Regions from separate parts of the Homo sapiens genome. Here all the other regions are linked to region 3. Evidence: promoter capture Hi-C in 16 types of primary human blood cells and fetal thymus (Javierre and others, 2016). All regions are on one chromosome and are shown on one strand. Each heading gives the region's core, a stretch centred on a gene start or on the middle of the fragment in contact. The rest is flanking DNA. Distances are from core to core; before and after follow the strand shown.

Evidence for each region. The method cuts DNA at HindIII sites, captures the fragments that hold promoters and counts their contacts. A CHiCAGO score of 5 or more calls a contact.
Region 1: the fragment with the promoter of PRODH2 here is called in contact with the fragment with the promoter of LINC01531 in region 3 in 9 of 17 cell types (neutrophils, M2 macrophages, total CD4 T cells and 6 more); the score reaches 8.1 in neutrophils.
Region 2: a contact is called between the fragment with the promoter of ZNF30 here and the fragment with the promoter of LINC01531 in region 3, in 9 of 17 cell types (total CD4 T cells, non-activated CD4 T cells, naive CD8 T cells and 6 more). The highest score is 14.9, in total CD4 T cells.
Region 4: a contact is called between the fragment with the promoter of KIRREL2 here and the fragment with the promoter of LINC01531 in region 3, in 16 of 17 cell types (neutrophils, M2 macrophages, non-activated CD4 T cells and 13 more). The highest score is 20.6, in neutrophils.
Region 5: a contact is called between the fragment with the promoter of SCN1B here and the fragment with the promoter of LINC01531 in region 3, in 14 of 17 cell types (naive CD8 T cells, activated CD4 T cells, total B cells and 11 more). The highest score is 14.3, in naive CD8 T cells.
Region 6: the fragment with the promoter of TYROBP here is called in contact with the fragment with the promoter of LINC01531 in region 3 in 3 of 17 cell types (total B cells, endothelial precursors and monocytes); the score reaches 7.0 in total B cells.
Region 7: the fragment with the promoter of KMT2B here is called in contact with the fragment with the promoter of LINC01531 in region 3 in 1 of 17 cell types (neutrophils); the score reaches 9.7 in neutrophils.

What each region holds. Positions count from the first base shown.
Region 1 is chr19:35,811,232-35,814,634 of GRCh38, reverse strand. PRODH2 (proline dehydrogenase 2) reads left to right here and starts at 1,790. Exons shown (of 10, transcript NM_021232.2): 1 at 1,790-2,003; 2 at 2,079-2,275; 3 at 2,363-2,501; 4 at 2,587-2,673. The coding sequence starts at 1,830. The HindIII fragment of the contact is 7,636 bases long and covers 1-3,403 here.
Region 2 is chr19:34,924,691-34,928,168 of GRCh38, reverse strand. It overlaps ZNF30 (zinc finger protein 30), which reads right to left and starts at 1,266. Exons shown (of 5, transcript NM_194325.3): 1 at 953-1,266. It overlaps ZNF30-AS1 (ZNF30 antisense RNA 1), which reads left to right and starts at 1,343. Exons shown (of 3, transcript NR_110749.1): 1 at 1,343-1,440. The HindIII fragment of the contact is 20,354 bases long and covers 1-3,478 here.
Region 3 is chr19:35,404,055-35,407,256 of GRCh38, reverse strand. LINC01531 (long intergenic non-protein coding RNA 1531) reads right to left here and starts at 1,650. Exons shown (of 5, transcript NR_040046.1): 1 at 1,576-1,650; 2 at 1-672. The HindIII fragment of the contact is 14,783 bases long and covers 1-3,202 here.
Region 4 is chr19:35,855,390-35,858,492 of GRCh38, reverse strand. It overlaps KIRREL2 (kirre like nephrin family adhesion molecule 2), which reads right to left and starts at 1,582. Exons shown (of 15, transcript NM_199180.4): 1 at 1,313-1,582; 2 at 999-1,148; 3 at 1-85. The coding sequence starts at 1,373. The HindIII fragment of the contact is 4,263 bases long and covers 1-3,103 here.
Region 5 is chr19:35,028,729-35,031,801 of GRCh38, reverse strand. SCN1B (sodium voltage-gated channel beta subunit 1) reads right to left here and starts at 1,332. Exons shown (of 6, transcript NM_001037.5): 1 at 942-1,332. The coding sequence starts at 981. RefSeq lists silencers at 755-863, 1,203-1,362. The HindIII fragment of the contact is 5,241 bases long and covers 1-3,073 here.
Region 6 is chr19:35,906,645-35,909,726 of GRCh38, reverse strand. TYROBP (transmembrane immune signaling adaptor TYROBP) reads left to right here and starts at 1,432. Exons shown (of 5, transcript NM_003332.4): 1 at 1,432-1,559; 2 at 1,965-1,997; 3 at 2,147-2,281; 4 at 2,463-2,509. The coding sequence starts at 1,499. RefSeq lists enhancers at 1-25, 126-175, 326-455 and a silencer at 2,267-2,420. The HindIII fragment of the contact is 5,164 bases long and covers 1-2,682 here.
Region 7 is chr19:35,716,324-35,719,727 of GRCh38, reverse strand. It overlaps KMT2B (lysine methyltransferase 2B), which reads right to left and starts at 1,725. Exons shown (of 37, transcript NM_014727.3): 1 at 1,347-1,725; 2 at 187-259. The coding sequence starts at 1,709. ZBTB32 (zinc finger and BTB domain containing 32) reads right to left here. Exons shown (of 7, transcript NM_014383.3): 7 at 2,690-3,250. The coding sequence ends at 2,976. RefSeq lists silencers at 1,291-1,340, 1,391-1,470, 1,511-1,580, 1,601-1,650, 1,731-2,210 and enhancers at 936-1,493, 2,781-3,060, 2,613-3,172. The HindIII fragment of the contact is 14,363 bases long and covers 1-3,404 here.

The DNA of each region.
Region 1 (3,403 bases), core at 541-3,040, 410 kb before region 3:
CTCAAAAAAAAAAAAAAAAAAAAAAAAAGACCTAGGACTTCACGCCTGTAATCCCAGCATGTTGGGAGGACAAGTAGGGTGGATCACTTGAGGTCAGGAGCTCAAGACCAGCCTGGCCAACATGGTGAAACCCCATATCTACAAAAATACAAAAATTAGCCAGGTGTGGTGGTGGGTGCCTGTAGTCCCAGCTACTCAGGGGGCTAAAGCAGAAGAATCACTTGAACCCGGGAGATGGGGGTTGCAGTGAGCCGAGATCGCACCACTGCACTCCAGCCTGGGTGACAGAGCAAGGATACGTCTAACAAAACAAAACAAAAAAATTAAGACATATGGTTTCCATTTTAAAAAAAGAAAATAGGATATAGAAGTCCCCATATCCCTCTACCCCATTACAATTCCTCCCATCCCCCACAATCAACCACCTCTCTGACTTCTGTGATAATCATGTCCTTACTTTTCTTGTCCTCATAGTTTGACCACCCACGCATGTATTCCCAACATTTTACTGCAGTTTCACTTTCCTTGCTTTTATATTTATTGAAAAGTATAGACCAGCCACAGTGGCTCATGCCTGTAATCCCAGCACTTTGGAAGGCTGAGGCGGGCAGATCACCTGAGGTCGGGAGTTCAAGACCAGTCTGACCAACATGGAGAAACCCTGTCTCTACTAAAAATACAAAATTAGTGGGGCGTGGTGGCACATGCCTGTAATCCCAGCTACTCTGGAAGCTGAGGCAAGAGAATCGCTTGAACCCGGGGGGTGAAGGTTGCAGTGAGCTGAGATTGTGCCATTGCACTCTAGCCTGGGCAACAAGAGTGAAACTGTGTCTCAAAAAAAAAAAAAAAAAAAAAAAAAAAAGAATAATACAGCTTGCCCTGTTTGGTGTCTGGCTTCTTTCACTTGACATTGTGAGATTCAGCCACACAGTTGTGTGTATCAGTATCCATTCTTTTTCATTACTGTATAGTATTCCATTGCATAACTACACCACCATATATGTATCCATTCTCCTTTTGATGGACATTTGGGTAGTTCAGACACTGCTCCTCTGAACATTCTTTCCTGTACATGTTTCCTGCTGTCCATGTTTAAGGTCTCTAGGATATGTACTTAGCATGGAACAGCTGGGTTATATAGGTTATTTGTCTTTTCTTTTTTCTTTTTTTGGCGACAGAGTCTCACTTTGTCACCCAGGGTGGAGTGCAGTGGCACAATCACAGCTCACTGCACCCTTGACCTCCCAGGCTCAAGAGATCCACCTTCCTCGGCCTCCTGAGTAGCTAGGACCACAGGTGTGTGCCACCACACACAGTTAATTTTTGTATTTTTTGTAGAGATGGGGTCTCACTATGTCGCCCAGGGTAGTCTCAAACTCCTCGGTCTTGGCCTCCCAAAGTGTTGGGATTACAAACGTGAGAACCGTATTTTCAAATGTATTCAATAACACTACAGCGTTTCCAATTTTAAGAGGAAGCAATTGCCACAAAAGTGATTAAGTAGCCTGTCCTGGATCACAAAGCCCGGTGTCCTGAGCCCAGGGATCCTTGCTCCGGAGCCCCTGCTTTCCCCAGCACATGGTGGTTACCTAATAAGTGCAGGCTGTTGTGCTGAGCATTCTTGGGGGCTGTTACTGGGGTTCACCTCCCGTTTCCGTTACTCTGAACTCTGTCCCCATTTGTTAATAATTAATTGCCCCCAAGGAGCCTGTGATCCTGAGGCTTTGCCCAGTTAATCAGTCACTGCCCCTGGTCTGGGCAAGGGGCAGTTGGTGAACTTGCTGCCTCCAGAGAACCTTCCCTGGTGTGGAGGCAGCCAGGGACCCAGGATGCTCCGGACCTGTTACGTGCTCTGTTCCCAAGCTGGTCCCCCCTCCAGGGGCTGGCAGTCCCTGAGCTTTGATGGCGGGGCCTTCCACCTTAAGGGCACAGGAGAGCTGACACGGGCCTTGCTGGTTCTCCGGCTGTGTGCCTGGCCCCCACTCGTCACTCACGGGCTGTTGGTGAGCAGTGATCCTGAGGACCAGCCTGGAGGCTCCTCATAGCCTGGCGCTGAGCCCTCGCTCCCTGTCACCCAGCTCCAGGCCTGGTCTCGGCGACTCCTGGGCTCCCGGCTCTCAGGCGCATTTCTCCGAGCATCCGTCTATGGGCAGTTTGTGGCTGGTGAGACAGCAGAGGAGGTGAAGGGCTGCGTGCAGCAGCTGCGGACCCTCAGCCTCCGACCACTGCTGGCAGTGCCCACTGAGGAGGAGCCGGACTCTGCTGCCAAGAGTGGGTGAGTAGGGAGCCAGGGCCCAGGGAGGCTGGGAGGACGCAGGAAGGGGCTTTGCTGTTCGGGCCCTGACACCTGCTGGCTGGGCAGTGAGGCGTGGTATGAGGGGAACCTCGGTGCTATGCTGCGGTGTGTGGACCTGTCACGGGGCCTCCTGGAGCCCCCCAGCCTGGCTGAGGCCAGCCTCATGCAGCTGAAGGTGACGGCGCTGACCAGTACTCGGCTCTGTGTAAGGAGTGCAAAGACGGGGGTGCGGGGAGGGCGCGGCTGCCCATCGGGCTCCCCTCACCACCCCGCCTACCACCCCATTTCAGAAGGAGCTAGCCTCGTGGGTCAGAAGGCCAGGAGCCTCCTTGGAGCTGAGCCCCGAGAGGCTGGCTGAAGCTATGGACTCTGGGCAGGTAAGGATCTCAAGCGGGACTGTCGGGGACAGAGTGCCTTGGACTTAGATGCGGCCACACCGCACGCCAGATGTTCAAAATGCTACGGCCACCTCCAGGCTTGGAACAGCCAGCAGAAGTGCAGCTGTAGCTCCCAGGCATGGTTGAAATGGATGGAATCAGGGTCATCTGGGTTCTCAGGGAGGAGCCTGGAGGCTGGAGGCTCTCAGAGGAGGGATTGGGATAGAAGCTGTTTATCAATTAGAAGGAGGTACATCAGTGTGTTCTCAGTCAACACAGCTGCATGGGTGTGAGCTGGCTGGGTGTAAGTTCTGATTAGGCCAATGGGGTCTTAGTTTGTTCATTCAATCATTAATTCCTTTTTATCTCCACATTCTCTTTCAACCCTACTCCATCTTTTTTTCTTTCTTTCTCTCTCTCTCCTTCCTTCCTCTTCCTCTTTTGCTCTCTCTCCTTCCTTCCTTCTTTTCTTTTTCCTTCTCTCCCCTCCCTCCCTCCCTCCCTTCCTTCCTTCCTTCCTTTATTCCTTCCTTCCTTCCTTCTCTCTCCTCCCTCCTCTCTCTCTCTCTCTCTCTTTCTCTTTGTCTTACTGTATTGCACAGGGTGGTCTCTAACTCATGGCCTCAAGCAATCCCCCAGCCTCAGCCCCCCAAAGTTCTGGGATTATAGGTGTGAGCCACCACACCCAGCCTGCCGTCTTGTATAATGCATATCTTTTTGTTTCTATGAT
Region 2 (3,478 bases), core at 17-2,516, 480 kb after region 3:
TGGTGCCATCTCCACTCACTGCAACCTCCGCCGCCTCCCAGCTTCAAGCACTTCTCCCACCTCCGCCTCTCAAGTAGCTGTGACTACAAGCGCACGCCACCATGCCTGGCTAATTTTTATATTTTTAGTAGAGACGGGGTTTCACCATGTTGCCATGTTGGTGGTCTCGAACTCCTGAGCTCAGGCAATCCACCCGCCTCAGCTTCCCAAAGTGCTGGGATTACAGGCATGAGCCATGGCACCCGACCTGTTTCCACTTTTTACTTAAAACGTAAGTTTCTCTGGCATGCTTTCTTTTAATTCTAACTAAAAAATTAAGAGCAACTCTTCTTTAAAAACAAACAAATAAAAAACCAACAGAAAAGATTCTCTGACATTTCAATTTCCTCTGTCCCCTAGCAGCTAGAGAGAGAGAGCTACTGCTGTGGGATAATGCAAAATTGAAGAACCTTAAGAAAAAGCTGGGTCCTATTTCTGTGCAATATGGAGATTGATGGAAATGTTTACAGCTGTCATCTTGCTCTCCTTTCTTACATAATTTTGTCATTAGTTAAGTAATCTGCACAACAGATCCTTTGAAGTCCTTTTCCCTGCACTGATAATTTTCAGATGACATTGCTCTCATCTTTAAAAGGTGTAAATACTTTATACAGTTTTTTCCAAACAAGAAGAGGCTTCCTGGCAATCCCATTTCTTCCCGCTGCATGCAAAAGGTATCATAACTATCGTTTCCTTTTTAAACTGAGAGTTGAAGAGTCTTTTGCTCCTTTACATAAATCAATTACAGTGATTTTATCCAAAATAGTAACAAATATTAATAGCTCAGGTTCGCATGGAGGCCATGCACCCAGTCTTCGCGGATGCACACCGGCCCCGGCCGACGCACCCTCCCTGCCCTGCCGCTCCCGCACTCGCCGGCCCGGGATCCTCGCCCGGTCCACCCAACGCTCACGCATGTCTCAGTCCGGGTTCCGCGCCGACACAGGTCTGCAGAGCTCCCGGTGCTGTGTTCGTTTGCAGAAATTCAAGTTGCCCGGCGGGGCTGCTCCAACCTCGGAGCTGGGCGCTGACTTCTCCCTCGATGAACTCCAAAGCTCGCTGCCGGGTCAACGACCACAATGAACTGGCGAGGAGGCAGAGATTGAGGTCGTTCCAGTGGCCGCTGAGAAATGTAGTTTCAGGCTACATTGGCCGGATAGCTGCAGCCTCTGGGAAATGCAGTCCTGAGCCGTCACACCGCCGAGCATGCCCGGCGCAGTCCACAAGGCCGCCCACCGGCGCCCGGAGACTTCTGGGCGCTCCCGTCCGGCTGAGAATGCGCAGGCGCAGGCGCTCGAGTTGCTGGGAGCCATAGACCTCGAAGCTGGGGCGTCTGACACCTGAGGCCCGAAGTAGGTGGCCAGCTTCTTAGAGGGCCAACCCAGGGCATTAACACACCAGGTCAGAAAAAGCAAAAACAAAAACAAACAAAAAATGATAATCTATACCAAAATATGTTATTACTTTAACACAAAAATATGAAAACTAGGTGTTTGAAATTATCTTTCCGTACTGTTTGCTTTTCGCTACAGAAATGCTATTATTTAACAGAATATTAATAGGATTAATAGTGGCAATTAGACTAATCACGTGTGAGAAAAATATATTTCTGTCCTCTGATACAGGAATTTTAAGTTTCTATTAAATATTTAAATTTTGTGGGTTCTATCTAAGATGCTAAATGTAAGACCTTTTAAAAGGAGAATGTAAATAAGGCTAATCAAACAGATATTAACTATATGTAATAGGCATTTATCTTTCTGTCCCATCATACGTTTAGGAGATATTTACTCTTTCTGGTTCCTTTTCCAGTAACACCTCTCTGTATTAGCTGCCTGTAGCCTTTATGGCATTCTTCTTTTGGTTTATGTAATGCTAAAACTGAATACAGGCAAACGTGAAATTCACCTTGACTGTCAGCTCCGCTTTTTGTTTGTTTTGTTTTTGTTTTGTTTTGAGACAGGGTCTCCCTCTGTCGCTCAGACTGGAATGCAGTGGCGCTATCTCGGCTTACTGTAACCTCTGCCTCCCAGGTTCAAGTGATTCTCCCACCTCGGCCTCCAGAGTAGCTGAGACTACAGGGGCGCGCCACTACACCTGGCTAATTTTTGTATATTTTTTGTAGAAATGGGGTTTTGCCATCTTGCCCAGGCTAGTCTCGAACTCCTGGGCTCAAGCGATCCACCCGCCTCAGCCTCCCAAAGTGCTGGGATGACAGGGTGAGCCACCGCGGCCAGCCGAGCTCTGTTCTTATTAAGCCCACATTACAGTGATTCCTGGAGTCAGTCCAGGGTGATGACATTGATAAGGAGGTGGGGAAGGGGAGTGCTGGGGAGGGAAGGGCGGGGTCCCTTTAAATGATATGGAAGGGGGAAAGGGAGGTGCTGGGTACAGGAGGGTGTGGTCCCTGGCTAGGGCTCCACCCCTGGCCCTGTGCCAACTGACCTAGGTGAGGGCAGGCATTTTTGTTTTCCTGCCCAAATGTTGCGTTTCCCAAGACCACCCTGGCCTGCCACGCCCCCATCCTGTTCCCGCCCCCATCCTGTCCCTATAAATACTCTGAGACCCTAGCAAGCAGACACACAAGCCGCTGGACATCCAGAGGAACATGTTGGCGGAAGAAGACATGACAGACGCTGGCACGCGGGCAGGCCACCCACCAGAAGGACGCGGAGTTTGGCTGGGGCAGTCCAAGGAGAGCCGGTGCTGCGGAGCAGCCCGATTCCAGGGGAAAACCATTTCCCTTCTGGCTCCCCCAACTGTTGAGAGCTACTTCCACTCAAAACCCTGCAGTCATCCTCCAAGCCCATGTGTGATCTGATTCTTCTGGTACACCAAGACAGGAACCCCGGGATATGAAAGCCCTCTGTCCTTGCGATAACGCAGGGATCTAATTGAATTGACTAACATAAGCCGCCTGCGGACAGCTAAAGAGCATCCTGTAACACGCCCACTGGGGCTTCAGCTATAAACATTCACCCCTAGACACTGCCATGGGGTCAGAGCCCCACAGCCCGCCCGTCTGTATACTCCCCTGGAGGTTTGAGCAGCGGGACACTGAAGAAGCGAGCCACACCCCCATCGCACGCCCTGCCAGGGGGACAAGGGAACTTTTCTCTTATCAACATCAACCTAAGTAGCCTCGCATCAAAAGCATTTGACTGTCAATAGTTAGGATTTTCCCTACCAGCAGTAGCAAGTTTTTAGCCTTATTGGAATTAGTTTCCAGCTCTGCAAAAATGTTCATCTGCTTTGTAACTCCAGGCTTTTTTGGTAGAGCAGCTGTTTGTTGACCAGTCGCTTTGCCTCTGTAAGTTCACCATATAGGCTATTCATGTCTAAAGTGTTCATTTTCAAACCCTCTGAAACTCATTGGGTATCTATTACAATGTCTGAAGACAAATATTTCATTAACAAATAAGAAGGTGATAGACCTGGA
Region 3 (3,202 bases), core at 401-2,900:
AGTGAGAGCCTTTCTCTACAAAACGTTAAGAAATTAGCTGGGCATGGCGGTGTGCACCTGTAGTCCTCGTTACTCTGGAGGCTGAGGCAGGAGGATCACTTGAGCCCAGGGGCTTCAAGGTTACAGTGAACCATGGTGGCACCACTGCAAACCAGCCTGGGCGACAGAACAAGACCCTGTCTCAAAAAAAAAAAAGTTTAAAAATGAATAAAATAATGAGGCCTTAACCTATGACAGATAGCATATCACCTGCTGGCCCATCTGTACATCTCATTCTGCATTCGAGAACTTCAGAAGTAGAGGACCAGATGAATGGGAGTGGCCCTGCCGCCACGGGGCTGAGCTCCACCGCTTTTGTCCTGCTCCTCCTCGCCAGGCCCTGACCATCTCTCCACTGACTTGTCCTGGCCCCTTTTCCATTTCTGTGGCCTCTTCCCTCTCCTCCTTGGAGAGTAGCCTGTCCTCTGCTCCCTGCATGCTCTCCTTCCATCCCGTCTCTTCCTGGGGTTATGATCCCAGCAACCTCTTCCCTGAGCCCAGGCGAGGTCAGGTCCCTTGCCTTTTCCTGCAGGTAGATGGGTGGGTTTTCAAAGATGTCTGGTTTCAGAAGCCGGTGGCATCTTGTCTAACTGGACCACCTTTTCCTTTTCCACCAACGGCAGGCTTTTATACCTGGAAGAGTCATGTGGTCAAAAAGAGGAAAGTCAGTGGTTGAGCTCTTTCTAAAGCAGCTTGACCTTCTGGGTCTCCCACCAGATTTTGTCCCCAACAGACTTATTTCACCCAGAGTCCAATTTTTTTTTTTTTGAGGCAGAGTCTTGCTCTATCACCCAGGCTGGAGTTTAGTGGTGCGATCTCAGCTCACTGCAACCTCTGCCTCCCTAGTTCAAGTGATTCTCCTACCCCAGCCTTCCAAGTAGTGGGATTACAGGTGTGCAACACCACGCCCGACTAATTTTTGTATTTTTTGTAGACAGGGTTTCACCATGTTGGCCAGGCTAGTCTCGAACTCCGAACCTCAAGTGATCCGCCTGCCTTGCCTCCCAAAGTGCTGGGATTACAGGCGTGAGCCACTGTGCTCAGCCCAGAATCCAAATTTGAACAGTTTTTTCAGGCTTCCTCCTCCCCCTACATTCCAAGAGGTTGAATTCTGTTTCCTTCCCATGGGCAATTATCCCACACGACTACACGCACATCCATCTCTCACTTCCGCTTTTTCTTTCTTTCTTTCTTATTTTGTTGTTGTTGTTTTGAGACAGGGTCCCACTCTGTTGCCCAGGCTAGAGTTCAGTGGTGCAATCGCGGCCCACTGCAGCCTTCACCTTTCGGGCTCAAGTGATCCTCACACCTCAGCCTCCCGAGAAGCTGGGCCACAGGTGCACGCCACTGCATCTGGCTAATTTTTTGTATTTTTGGCAGAGACGGGGTTTCACCATGTTACCAAGAGTTGTCGAACTCTTGAGCTCAGGCAGTCCACCCGCTTTGGCCTCCCAAAGTGCTAGGATTACAAGTGTGAGCCACCATGCCCAGCCCCAAGTTTGTTTTTAGAAAAAAAAACCTAGCATTGTCCCTTGCCTATAACAGACACTCAAATCCTTGTGGAATGTAAGGATGGAGGTTGGATGTGCCTGTGAATACTTGCTAGCTGATGACACAAGCAAAGAATGTGTCAGAACCTGCGCCTTTTGTCTCCTGTCCTTTATCTGCATTCTGTTGCCCGGGTTACTGGTATGGGGACATCTTTGGTGCTGAGGTCTAGGTTCCAATGAGTCAAAGGGAGAATTCAAACTAAGTTGTCTGGCAGCACCCCAAGACTGTGCTGACCTCACACACAGCTGTATCACGGGAGTGGGCAGTGCATCATCTCAAATCCAACTCAACTGAGCAATGGTTCGGGCTGAGTCACACCATGTATGAATCGGGGGGCGGGGGTATGTGGCTCCTCTCCAACAAGCCACACTGTCTGCTTCCCTGTCACAAAACACATGGAGCCGTTACTCTGTGTGAGGTACTGTTCTAGGAGCTGGAGACAAGAGTGAACAGGATGAACAGAAAACAAGTAGACAAACCAACAAGGCAATTTTACAGGAAGAAAGGAAGTAGGCCAGGCAAGGTGGCTCACGTCTGTGATCTCAACGCTTTGGGAGGCCCAGGCAGGAGGACTGCTTGAGGCCAGGAGTTCAAAACCAGCCTGGTCAACATAGCGATACCCCGTCTCTACAAAAAGTGAGATAAAAAGTCAGGCATGGTGGCTCACACCTATAATCCCAGCTACTTAGGAGGCTGAGGCAGGAGGAGGATTGCTTAAGGCTGGGTGTTTGAGACCAGCCTGGGCAACATAGTGAGATCCCCTGTCTCTACAAAAAAGGATAAAAATAAAAAATTAGCCAGGCATGGTGGTGCACACCTGTAGTCCTAGATACTCAGGAGGCTGAGGCGGGAGGATCACTTGAGCCTAGGAGTTGGAAATTAAAATGAACTATGATGGCACCACTCCAATCCAGTGGTCCTGTCTGGGGGAAAAAAAAGGGAAAGAAAATAAATCGGCTAGGCGTGGTGGGGTTCATGCCTGTAACCCCAGCACTTTGGGAAGCTGAGGCGGGCACATCACTTGAGGTCAGGAGTTTGAGACCAGCCTGGCCAACATGGTGAAACTCTGTCTCTACTAAAAATACAAAAATTAGCCAGGTATGGTGGCGGGCACTGGTAATCCCAGCTACTCAGGAGACTGGGGCAGGAGAATCACCTTAACCTGGGAGGCAGAGATTGCAGTCAGCCGAGATCATGCCACTGCACTCCAGCCTGGGCGACAGAGGAAGACTCTGCCTCAAAAAAAAAAAAAAAAAAGGACCAAAAATCAAACAACAACAACAACAACAACAAAAAGCAAGCAGGGAAATTGAGAGAGAGAGAGAGAGAGATGGGCAGGGCCTGTCAGGAAAGGCCTGGGACATTTGAATGGGTGAGAAGGAGCCACTATCTGAAGAGCGTTCCAGGTAGGGGCACCAGCGGGAACTTAGCCTGAACCATGGCTCGGTTGAGTTGGACTTGAGATGTCGCACCGCCCACTCCCATGATGCAGCTGTACGTGAGGTCAACACAGCCTTGGGATGCTGCAAAACAGCTTAGTCTGAATTCTCCTTTTTTTTTTTTTTTTGAGACAGAGTCTCACTCTGTTGCCCAGGCTGGAGTGCAGAGGCGA
Region 4 (3,103 bases), core at 333-2,832, 450 kb before region 3:
GCTTCATCCTCTAGCTCCACGGGCCTAATGTGGAGGTCATGCTGGCCATTGGCTGCATTCCCTGATATCCAGTACCGGGACCACCCTGGAGTCAGGGAGAAGGCAGTCAGCACACCATGGTTCTGAAATCCTGGCCTCAGGCCTCCATCCCCAGACATCCTCCACCAGAAAACTGGCCCACACATTTGGTGGTAAGACACTATTAAAAAGTGTGTACTGGGCCCAGAGAGACTCTAACTCCCTCCCAACCCAGAGTCACTGCAAACTTAGGGGTAATAAAGTCAGGAAGGAAAGCAAGAAAATGATTGCCATAAAAATTAGGTTAGATACTACTTCTGGAGTGAGGGGGAGGGGGCTATGATAGGGGAAAGGAACACGGGGTCTTCTGGGGAGCTAGCAATGGACTTGGGTATTGGCTGTGTGTGTCTATTTTATTTGGTAAATCTTCCATTTATATTTACTGTACTTTTTTGCATTTATGTTCTCTTTTTTTTTTTTTTTTGAGACAGGGTCTCACCATTGCCTGAAGTGCAGTGGCTTGATCATGGCTCACTGCAGCCTTGAACTCCTAGGCTCAAGCAATCCTACCACCTAAGCCTCCTGAGTAACTGGGACTATAGATGCACACCACCATACCCGGCTAATTTGTTTAAAATATATATATACATTTGTGTAGAGATAAGGTCTTGTTATGTTGCCCAGGCTGGTCTCAAACTCCTGGTTTCAAGCGATCCTCTGGCCTCAACCTCCCAAAGCGTTGGGATTACAGGCGTGAGCCACTGCACCTGGCCTATGTACTATTTTGCAATAACATAATAATTCCCAAACTCCGTGGGTCACCCCCAAAGAAGCAGCTCAAAAATCAGGACTCCTAAATGTTTACCCGAGCCCATCAATTTCCCAAACTTGAAAATGTCAAAATAGAAACTGCAGGTACAGCCGAGCCCAGCAACTCTCCCCCTAGCCAGCCCGTCCCAGCGTGGAGAGAACACTCTTACCTGGTAGGTCCCTTTGGCCCCCTAGGGCCAGCCCACTCTTAGTCCACTGAACTAGCCCCCAGTAGGCGCCCAGAGCACACGGCAGCCGGGCTTCCTCCCCCAGCAGCACCACCAGGTCCTCTGGCTGTTGCAGGAAATGGGGCGACGGGCCTAGGAGAGTTCGGGGCAGCAGGGCTGAGCTTAGCACCTTCAGGGGCCTCCTCATTCAGGACCCAGGAGTCCCAGCCCCCAGCTCCCTTCTCGCTAGTGAAGAGGCAGCCCGCAAGCAACTCCCCACCCCCACCCCATATTCCTCCGCTCCCCTCGTGCGGTACCTGCTCTCCCTCTGAAGCAGAAGAGGAGGACGAGGAGGGCGGGGACCCGCATCCTGAGCATTCGTCCCCCAAGGTTCACGAGATTTGCCGTCGCACTGGCCTTCCCGTCAACTTCTTCCTCTCAAGCACGCCTCCTGTCACCCTGGCCCGGAGCCCCCTTCACGCTCGACTCTTCGCCCAGCCTAGTCTCTGGCCTGGAGTCCTCCAAGTCTGCTCATCCGCAGCCTCTGACGCTCTGAAACGCCTGCCAGTTCCGCGGCCTGGGTCTCTGGGAGACCCCAAGAGGGCCCGATCCCGCTCGCCCCGCCCGGGTCCGCCCCCCGGGAGCTCCGCCCTCTTCCCGTTGAGAAACTCCCGCGGCTGAGACGCGGATGAATGGGGGACGCAGGGCGGGATCCCCCGGCGGGTGGGCGCCCCCAGCTCAATTGGGGTCTGGGAGCCGGAACACCTGGGTTCGAGGAGGGAGGGGGTCCCGGCTGGGTTGGACACCTGCGCCCTGCCGGGGTTGAGGGGCAGGCAAGGGGTGAGGAGGAGGGAAGGGAGAGAGTGGAAGAAACTTGCTCAGCCCAGGTCCTAGAGGGACTGCGCTCAGTGGAAACTGAGCTATAAATGGGAGCTCCTGGGGCCTCGCCAGTTTCCGCGCCCTGGGGGATGCGGGGTCCGGGGCTCCCCCGGGCCTGCGTGTCGGGAAGAGGGCACACCGATACCTGGGGGACAGTTGGGACCCCTACCTCGACTCCCCCAGCCTCAAAACCCCTCCTCAAAATATCCCTCTGTTCCCTTGTTATTGCTGCAAACTACAGCACGTCCTAAGACCCAGGAATCCAGGCCCTCGGCCCCTCCTTTCCCAGGACCCCGCAGTCCCAGCCCAACCCCTCTCCCCACTCGGCCGGCCGGGCCCCTCGGCCTGGTTGCCCGGCGACGGCTGGGAGGCGGCGGTGCCGGGCCGGGGCAGGCAGGGAGGCTGGGAACCGCGCAGCTTGTCCTGACGGCTCCATGCAGCCCAGCTGGGGCGTTCCCACGCTGCGCAGCTGGCCGAGCAGGTGGGAGGGACCCCGAGCAGCCTGAAGGAGGGCTGGGGGGCTGGGACCCTGATCTGACATTCCTGGACCTGTAAGAACTGGAGGGTCCACATTCAGATTCTCCACTGTTCTTAGGCTCAGACTCCGTGTCCCTAAATGGGGGAGTGGGGTTGGGAGTGGGGGTTGGACTTACAGGGTTATAAGGGACTGGTGGTTCAGGCCTTTGCTGGCTGAGACGCTGATGGCCTGATCTCCCGGTTCCTTGAGAGGCTGGAGACTCAAGGTGCACTCAAGTGCATGGTGCACTTGGAAGAGGGTGACAGGGGTCAGAATATCTGGTCTTAAGTCTTAAGAGTCGGTGGATCTATCTGCCAATCTCTCCCCACCCCCACACAGGCCCAGGAGGATTTGGAAATCAGACCGTGAACATCTGTCCTAAGTCCTGTGTGTATGTGTGTGTGTGTGTGTGTGTGTGTGTGTGTGTGTGTGTGTGTGTGTGTGTATGGGGAGGTGCGGGGGTGGGTAGTGTGGCCAGGAGGATCAGAGGCCCAAATTCCCGAGTCCTTGGAGAGAAGGGACTGAGACCCCAGGGTCTGAGAGGGGAGGGATCTGGGGGCCTACACTCCCGGCTTCTGTGTGGCTTATCTAGTGCCTGGATTTTGAAATAGGATGGACATGGGGCTGGAACTCCTGAGTCTTAGGGAGGAACTCAAGTCATGGGGCTGTTTTTCCAGGCACTTGACGCCGCTTCCCCTTCCTGGCTCTCTGG
Region 5 (3,073 bases), core at 83-2,582, 380 kb after region 3:
AGAATTCCTTCACACTCTTACCTGGCACCTCCTTTCTGCCTCCCAGCACTCTGTAGCTAACGCTGTGTCTCTTCTGCTGCAGCCCTGTGCTGTCCTTGTTTCCTGATCCTCAGGACTTCTCATCCATCCGCCTCCCCTGCGGTCCCTTTCAGACTCCCTGAGGGCCTCTGTCTCAGTCCCTCCTATCTTTGTCCCTCTCAGGGGTCTCTCTGAAGGTCCCTCCACTTTTTGTCCACTCTCTGGGCTCAGAAGGAGACCTCTCCTAATCTCTTTCCACCTTTCTACGTCTATCCCTTTTCAAACTCCATGCAAGATTCTCTCCCGGTGTTCACGGGCACCCGCATCTCCCTCTCTCTTCTCTCCATCTCCTTCTGCCTTTCTCAAGTTTCCCTTTCTCCATCGCGCTCAGTCTCTTAACTCTCTCTCTCTCTCTCTCTCTCCAATACCCCTCTCTCTGTCTCCGTCTCCCCCTTGACCCCCATGTCCCCAGCATCCCAGCGGACCACTCCGGTGCGCTCCGAGTCCTTCTCTGTCTCTCGCCCCCTTCCTCCCGTCTTCATCTCTCCCTGTCCCTCCGTCTTTCCCGTCCCAGTCTCCGGGCGCCGCCTTCCCCCCACCCCCCTCCCGCGGCTGTGGGTGTCACATTGCAGCCTGCGGGGCTCCGGGAGCAGCTGACTCCGCGTTTCCTCGCCCCCGGCTGGGCGCCTGCAGCCGCCAGGCTGTGCCAGCCCGGCCCCCACCCGCTGGAGCCCACCCTCACCTCCACTGCCCTCCCCAAGCCCGGCTCCCGCGCGCACAACTTCTGAAGCTGACTTGGCGGGGCCCGGGGATGGGCCGGGGGTGGCCCTCGCGCGGCTGCCCCGTGTCCCGAGCGCCACTCCCGCCGCCCCGCCAGTGCCCCCGCGGTGCCCCCCGGCCGCGCGCGCCCCCCGCGCACTCACCCAGTGCCGCGCCGACCACTAAGGCCAGCAGCCTCCCCATGGCTGCGCGGCGCGTGCTGCGCCCCCCTCCCGGGCCGCCGGTATTAATAGCGGGGCGAGAGGCGGCGGGACCTGGCGGCGGTTAGAATGTCCCCGGGAGCGCGCGGGCGCAGCAGCTGCGGCTCTGGGACCGGCGAGGGGGGAGGAGGGGGGGCGCGGCCCCCCCGCTCCGGTTACCGCCGGGGGCCCAGCCCCGGGGCCCGGCGTCCGGGCATCCCCGCCGCGCGGGCGGCGGCCGCTGCTCGGGCTGCTGCGCTGGCGCGCGCAGCCGGGCACATCCGCTAGGTGCACCGACCCCGGTCCCGCTCCGGCTCGGGCGCGCTCGGGCGCGGACCGCGGTCTCCTGCGCACTGCAGCGGCGGCGGCGGCGGCGGCGGCGGCGGCCTAGGGAGGGACGAGGGAGGAGAGGGAGGGGGCGGGATGAATCACCGCGGGGGGAAGGCGCGGCCGCCCAGCCTTTGCCGCAGCGGCCCGGGAGGCGCCCGCTGCACCGGCCTCTCCGGGTGGCGCAGGGACCGCGACTTCTGGGAACGGGGAGGGTGGTCTGTGTGTCTCCGACCCCGCTGGGGCTCTGAGGACCACCCCCCCCCCCCCACCTTCCCAGGGAGTCTGGAAAGGTCACCCCCAGAGTCACAGGAGGACTTAGAGCGCAGTTTGGGGGCCGGGTTTCCGACTTCAAATGATGGAGGTCATCCTCAGGAGTTCCAGAGGGCGAACCTCCAAGTTATCTCCCCTGAGCCCTGATATCCAGGCCTGGGGGTCAATGTGCAGGGACCCCAAGTAGGCATTAGAGGAGGGTGGGGGGCCGTCAGGCTAGGACTACAGCTACAATCCGGACCTCACCCAAGCAGGCGGGGCACCCTGGAGAGAAGCAGCCCCGGGAATCTGGAGGTGCTGTTTCAGGAGGAGGACCCCTTCGTGATCCCCTGCACCCATTTATGTCCCTGATGTCACCTTCTACCCCTCTTTCCTCCCACTCCACTCTGGCTGTTCAGGCCCTCCTGCTGTTCCCAACACAGGGAACCCGTTCCTGCCTCAGGGCCTTGGCCCCAGCTCTCCCCTCTGCCCCGGCTCTCCCCCCCTGCCCCGCCCCTCTCCGTGGGCCTCCATGGCTCCAATGTCACCTTCGTCAGGTCTTCTGTGTCCCTTCAGGGTAAACTGCCTTCCCCGCTCCTAACCTGACCTCCTTTACTCTTTACCTCTTGTTGAGTGTTTTCCACAGCAGCCTCACTACCTGACATTATGTTCTTTTTTTTTTTTTTTTTTTTTTTTTTTTTTTGAGATAGGGTCTGGCTCTGTTGCCCAGGCTGGAGTGCAGTGGCTGATCTCGTCTCACTGCAACCTCCGCCTCCCGGGTTCAAGCGATTATCCTGCCGCAACCTCCCAAGTAGCTGGGAGTACAGGTGTGCACCATCATGCCTGGCTAATTTTTTTATTTTTTAGTAGAGACAGGGTTTCACCATGTTGACCATGCTGGGATTACAGATGTGAGCCGCCCCCCGCTATCCCAGCACTTTGGGAGGCCAAGGGGGGCAGATCACCTGAGGACAGGAGTTCGAGACCAGCCTGACGAGCATGGTGAAACCCCGTCTCTACTAACAATACAAAAAAAATTAGCTGGGAGTGGTGGTGGGCACCTGTAATCCCAGTTACTTGGGAGGCTGAGGAAGAATCGCTTGAACCCGGGAGGCAGAGGTTGCAGTGAGCCAAGATCGCATCACTGCACTCCAGCCTGGGCAACAAGAGCGAAACTCCGTCTCAAAAAAAAAGGCCGGGCGCAGTGGCTCACGCTTGTAATTCCAGCATTCTGGGAGGCCGAGGTGGGCGGATCACGAGGTCAAGAGATCGAGACCATCCTGGCCAACATGGTGAAACCCCATCTCTACTAAAAATACAAAAATTAGCTGGGCGTGGGGGCACATGCCTGTAGTCCCAGCTACTCAGGAGGCTGAGGCAGGAGAATCGCTTGAACCCGGGAGGCAGAGGTGGCAATGAGCCGAGATCACACCACTGCACTCCAGCCTGGTGACAGAGTGAGACTCCATGTAAAAAAAAAAAAAAAAAAAAAAAAAAAAAATCTCCCAGGTGAGGAT
Region 6 (3,082 bases), core at 183-2,682, 500 kb before region 3:
GAGAGGCTTGGGTTTTTAAGGGAGGGGACTCAGCCAGGCCTGAACAGTGGTGACCGTGGGCTGAGCTGGGACCTGACCCTCCTCCAGGCTCCAAATCTCCTCTCCTCCCTTCCCCCACAGGCCACTGGGCATCTGCCCTGTGACCAGAATCCAGTTTCCCCTTTTTTCTCCTAAGCCCAGGCCCAAGGAGCGGTGGGTGTGACGTGTGGATGGGGGAGGGGGGCTTCCTGCAGCTGTCTCATCCTCCAGCACCCTAACCTCAGGTTCCTCCTTCCCCAGCCCCAGGCTCCAGCTGGGGGCTAGAAGTCCCCGTCTCCTTGGGGTGGCCTCCCTTGGGCCTTGCTCCCAGCCACTTCCTCATTCAGCAGGAGAGCCAGCCACCTGCCTCTCCCCAAGCCGCCAGCCGTGCCTCTGTGTCTGTGCCACTGCCTTACTCTCACCTTTCTCAGCTTTGCCGCTGTTTTCTCCTTCCCCATCTTTCATCTTTGTTTTTCCCCCTGACTCTTCCCTAGTCAAAAACCTGATTTTGGGTCTTGGGTTCCATTTCCACCTTGATTTGCTGTGCAGCCTTAGGCAAGCGTCTCTACCTCTCTGAACAATGGGGATGATAAGAGCATGTGCCCTAGAAGGGCATTGCGGGGACTGAATGATTTAACGCTTGGGACAGAGTGCCTGCATGTCATTAGTGCCCACATGCTGCTGGCTCTTTTAATATCCTTTAAACAGCACAAGTTTCTGATGATTAAATAATCATCATCATAGCTGATGCTTTTAAAAAGCTGACAAGGGTCAGACCCTGGTCTAGGAACTTTAATTCATTTAATCCCCACAACTCTAAAAAGTAGGTCCCATTTTACTCCCAATTTTACAGATGAAGAAACTGAGGTTGGAGCTGGGTGCGGTGGCTCACACTTGCAATCCTAGCACTTCGGGAGGCCAAGGTGGGTGGATCACCTGAGGTCAGGAGTTTGAGACCAGCTGGCCAACATGGTGAAACCCTGTCTCTACTAAAAAAAAAAGAAAAAAAAATACAAAAAATTAGCCGGGCATGGTGGCAGGCGCCTATAATCCCAGCTACTTGGGAGGCTGAGGCAGGAGAATCACTTGAACCCGGGAGGCAGAGGTTGCAGTGAGCCGAGACCGTGCCATTGCACTCAAGGTTGACCAGCCAGGAAGAGGCAGAGCTGGTTTCAATCAGCCAGAGGAAGGTCATGACACTGACCCTCCTGTTAAAACGATGTCTGACCCCTGACTGGGGACGGAGGTGAAGTTTGTGCTTCACGTACCCTTTGCCCTTCACGTCTAGTTGCTGGGGGCCTGTGGCATGGCCCCTGGGTGTCTGGGCCTGATTCTTTCTTGGGTTTTGTTTCTGTCTCTCCTCCCCTGTCTCCTCCTCCCTTCTGCCACCACCCGCCTCAGACTTCCTCCTTCACTTGCCTGGACGCTGCGCCACATCCCACCGGCCCTTACACTGTGGTGTCCAGCAGCATCCGGCTTCATGGGGGGACTTGAACCCTGCAGCAGGCTCCTGCTCCTGCCTCTCCTGCTGGCTGTAAGTGGTGAGTTAGGGGCTTCCGTGGCTGCCTCCCGGGTCCCTGGGCTCAGCTTGGGGCAGGGCAGGGAGTGGGGTGGAACGAGAGAACCAAAAGTGGGTGTTGGGATGGGAGCAGGTCCCCAACCTCCCAAAGCCTGTGGGTTTCTCCCAGAGCCCAAGCCCCCAAGTTTTGTCGTCCGCTACAAGCAGGGGAGAAGAGACATCTAAGTGTGTTGCCACAGGACAAGTTGTGCAGAAGTAACGCACATAGTCCGGTGGCCCAGACGCCAGCCCCCTGAGTCCCGCCAGACACGCTCTCCCCCTTGCTAACCTCTTGGCTGTCAGGATCCACCTTCCCTGGCTTCTAAACTTGCCTCCCCCACCCCCGTCATAACTCTGTGCCTCAGTTTACCTTCTTTTTCCTCCTCAGGTCTCCGTCCTGTCCAGGCCCAGGCCCAGAGCGGTAGGCCTAGACCCAGCAGTCCCTCTCTCTACCTCCCAGAGACCTCCCTGTCTCCGTCTCTCCCACACCCTTTCCAAACCTCCCTGCCGCTGACCCCCCTCCCCACAGTTCCCAGCACACACTGACCTCCCCTGACCCCTGTGCTGCAGATTGCAGTTGCTCTACGGTGAGCCCGGGCGTGCTGGCAGGGATCGTGATGGGAGACCTGGTGCTGACAGTGCTCATTGCCCTGGCCGTGTACTTCCTGGGCCGGCTGGTCCCTCGGGGGCGAGGGGCTGCGGAGGGTGAGTGGGGCTAGCAGGGGACATCCTGAGGACTTGCCTAGATGGGGGTGGGGGGCTGGGTAAACTCCCAGATCTCAAACATCCAAAGGGATGGTAATGGAGGTGCTGATTTGGAATGACAAAACACCCTCAACTCACCACTCTGCCTGTCTCTGCACCCCACAACACCCCTCACCTCCAGCAGCGACCCGGAAACAGCGTATCACTGAGACCGAGTCGCCTTATCAGGTGAGAAAACCAGACTGTCCTCCTCACATTTCACTCCTGCCAGGGATATCTGCCCCAGATACTCCTTCATGCCATCAGAGGGACCTCAAAGCCACTCTGCCTAAAGCACCCCCAAACCTTGAAGGCACATGGGACATCTGTCCAAAACTGGGCCGAATGATCAACCACAAGCTTATGGTCAGCTTAAAATGTGTGAAGAGGGGCTGGGCACGGTGACTCAAACCTGTAATCCCAGCACTTTGGGAGACAGAGGCGGGTGGATCACTTGAGGTCAGGAGTTCGAGACCAACATGGTGAAACCCTGTCTCTACTAAAAATACAAAATTAGCTGGGCGTGGTAACGCATGCCTGTAATCCCAGCTACTTGGGAGGCTGAGGCAGGAGAATCCTTTGACCCAGGAGGCGGAGGTTGCAGTGAGCCAAGATCACGCAATTGCACTCCAGCCTGGGCAACAAGAGGAAAACTCTGTCAAAAAAAAAAAAGCGTGAAGAGTTAAAAAGAAAAAAAAAAGGGTGGCTTTGCCTTTGTAAGTGTAAACACAGGCCTTGCCAGAAGTCAGGCCAGGAATTTTC
Region 7 (3,404 bases), core at 476-2,975, 310 kb before region 3:
GGCGCTCCAGGAGGGCAGGGACTAAGTCTTGCTTGTGTGTTTCCCCCGCTGCCCAGACTAGCTTGGACTCTGAACACAGAACACATTCGGCAACTGACAGAGGCTAGTTGAACAGGGAAGAGCTGACACGAAGGGCGAGGATAAATTCCTGTGACGCTAAAGAGGTGGAGTTCCCCCGTCACTCACCTCGCTGGGATCGGAGCGCAGAGCGCAGGGAACTGGGGGCCACATCTTCATCTGAATGAAAACCCTGAAACTCCTGATTTAGGGGACCGGGGTGGAGGGGAGAAACAGCAGTCAGTGCCAAAGCCCTCGTTCCATCTGAGGTATCGAGGAATATCCCCAGTTCCCACTTAGCATACCCCTGCCTATTTAAAAAGAACGAAAAAGACTCAAAGGTCGCGGGTAGTGGAAGAGAGGGTCTCTCCCTAGGGATGGAGGCGCCAGGTATTTCGAACTCCGATCCCCAGTGCCGGACCACACCAGCACAGCCAAAGCCATGGTTCACTGGCCCAAGAGAGAAGACGACAGGGTCTCCTCAGGAAAGGCAGCAGGCCCCATACTCAGATTCCTTCAGAGTCCAATTCAGACCAAAGTGGGACCTCCACTGACACCCTTTCGGGCCACAATTTATTTCTGCATTAAGTTGGGAACAGGGGCCCGCAAGTGAAGGGGCGGGGAGGGCATCAGATGGCTTTCGTACAGGCTCCACTGCGAGCTCTCAGGTTGTTATTAACCGTCCAGGGCAACGCAACCCACACCTTCCTGCCTGTTCTGAAAGGCTGGGGGAGAAATCCTGAGCTGAGCTCTGACCTGCTAGAGTGCCCAGTCCCGGCCTTCATCCCACTCCTGTTCAACCCGAGCCCCAAGAGGAAGCCCTCCACCACTCTACCTGAGATGCCAAGAGAAACTGGGGCCCTGGAGAAACCAGGAGGTTGCGAGGCCCGGCGGGGCGGCCCACAGGTAAGAGCCCAGACAGCTCCAACCTGTCTGCCAAGGCCACGCTGCCGCTGTCAACCACGACTGGCTGGACATGCAGTCCCCACTGCCTCCTCGCCCAAACCTCCACCGCCCTAGCTTTGCCAGCTGCCGAAAAGGATCGGCCCAAGACACTTCAGCGGGACCGACATCGGGCGCGAGTGCCTGGCTGCAGCCGGGGCTTCTCTACCCACTTCCAGAGGCCCTTTCCCCCGGAAGCTGCATGCAGCCGCCCTCCCTCCGTGCCCCGTCTCTCCGAAGGAACCCTGAGGACCCGGCCTGCCCACGCCGCCCCCGGGACAACCCAGACCCCTGGAAGCCCCGGCCTCCGCCCCACCCGGCGCCGGGGACGCCTCCAACCGCCTCACCTCCTCGTCGGATTCCCCGTCACTGCTCTCCTCCTCCGGCACGCAGCCTCGACTCGGGCCCCAGCCCCGGCCCCGACCCCGTCCCCGGCCCCGCTGGACCCGCGGGCCGGCCCACAGGCGGCGGAGCCGGCGCAGGCCCCGGCGGAGCCCCAGCAAACGGAGCAGGGCCGTGTCCTCCCCGGGCTCGGCTCCGCCCGGCCCCGTCGCGCCACCGCCGCGCCGCAGAGCTACCCGCACTCTTTCGGCCCCGTTGCCCCGTCCGCCGCGGCCCCCGCCCCCGCCGGCGCCCCGCGGCCGGCCCGGGAAGCGGCCCCGCGCGGAGCCAGGCCCGGGGCAACTGCCGCCGCCCGCCGCCGCCGCCATCTTGGCACCGTGAGAGGGGCCGGGGAGGCGGGGGGAGGGGCGGCCCGTGCGCAGGGCCGGGGGGAGGGGAGAGAGCGGGGGCGGGGCGGGGCGGCCGCGGCGCACGACAACAACCAGCGCCGCCGCGGGAGACCGGGGGCCGGGCCGGCCACGCGCAGGGCACCACGGGAGAGGGAGTCCGCGGCCGGCCGGCGCCCTCGGACCGCACCTGGGGAGCACAGACCCCCGCGTCGCGGCCGCAGAGGGGCGAACCGCGGGGGCCTCCGGGAAATGTAGTCCGGACGCCTCGCTTCTTCCGCCGGCAGCCAGGGCGCGAGGGCCGGGACGGCGGGGTTCCCGGCCAGGACCCGGAAAGCGGGTTGCCGGGTCTCCGGGAGGTGTGGTCCTAGCCCCAGGCTCCTCCCATTGTTCTTGGCTAGGCCGGCGGCCCGCGTGGACTACCACTCCCAGGGTGCCGCGGGCTCGGGCCCCGGGACCCCCGAGGCCCTGGGAAATGCAGTTCGCGGCTGCAGGAGGCGTGGGCTGGAGAAGGAGCGGTGGAAAGCATAGTCAGTCTCCGTTCCAGGCGCGACCTGGCGGCGGCTTGGCACGGTGTGGAGGGAAGACGCCGGAGAGGCCGCGGTCTCGGGGTCCGTGTGCTCCCGGAGAGGAGGCGGGTGGCCGAAAGCAGGGTCGGAGCACGCGTTCCTCTCTCTCCCGGGCCGAGCGTTCCCAGATCAGACTCCGCGCGCCGTGGATTGCAGTGGAAGGGGCGAGTGACTTGCGGTCGCACAGCCCCCACCAGTCCAGGACCGGCATGCCGCAAGGTGTGCCCGGACACCGAGTCCTCGGGGCCGGCTGCCTCCTGGGGAGGACGGGGCGCCTCGGGGGTGGAAGAAGTGTCCATCCCGCTGGACAGCGGACGCAGGGCCACCAGGGGCCGCTACAGGACAAGGGGCGTGGGCGGGGGTGTGCACAGACTAAACTCGGCTTTCTAGTCCTGAAGGGAGGGCACAGGAAACTCTTTATTATGGTGATGAGATCGACAATCTCCCCTACTGTTAACCTTCGCTCCTGCACACTTCAGTGTCCTCACTCTGTAGGGCTCGCTGGCCTGGGCTTCTGCGACCCGCGATCGTCCAGGAGAGGGCACTCGGCGCCCTTCCTGGGGCGCTTCTGGGGCGGAATTTGCTAGGCCGCCGTAGCAGCGGTGCCAGGTCAGAAGCCGAGCCGGCCCGCTTTTCGTTCTTTAATTGGACTCTTGGCTAAGACGCTACCGACACCCCGTCAGGTGGTGGAGGAAGAAGGACAACAGGGAGAGGTCGAGGGCCGAGACGGCCTCGAGGAGGAGTAGAGGAAGGTGGAGCGGATGGTCCATCCGGGCGGGAGTTGGCTGGGCGAGTGACCGCGCATGTGCGCCTGCATGGAGGCCAGGCTGGGACAGCCGGCCCCGCACAGGGAGCAGCGGTACGGAGCGGCCCCGTGTGTCCGCAGGTGCTTGGTCATGGCCGAGAAGTCCCGGGAGCGCTGAGGACAAAGGCTACAGGAGAAGGGCTTCTCTCCTAGAGCGGTCGGAAGGGGAGGCCGGTGAAGGAAGGAAGAAGGCGGCGAAAGCTGGCCAAGTTAGGGGTGGATCGGGCCACGGGGCTAGGGGATTGCGCGGGAACCGGGCACACAGGTGGAGACTCAGGAGCGGAGTTGGGAAGAAAGCCGACA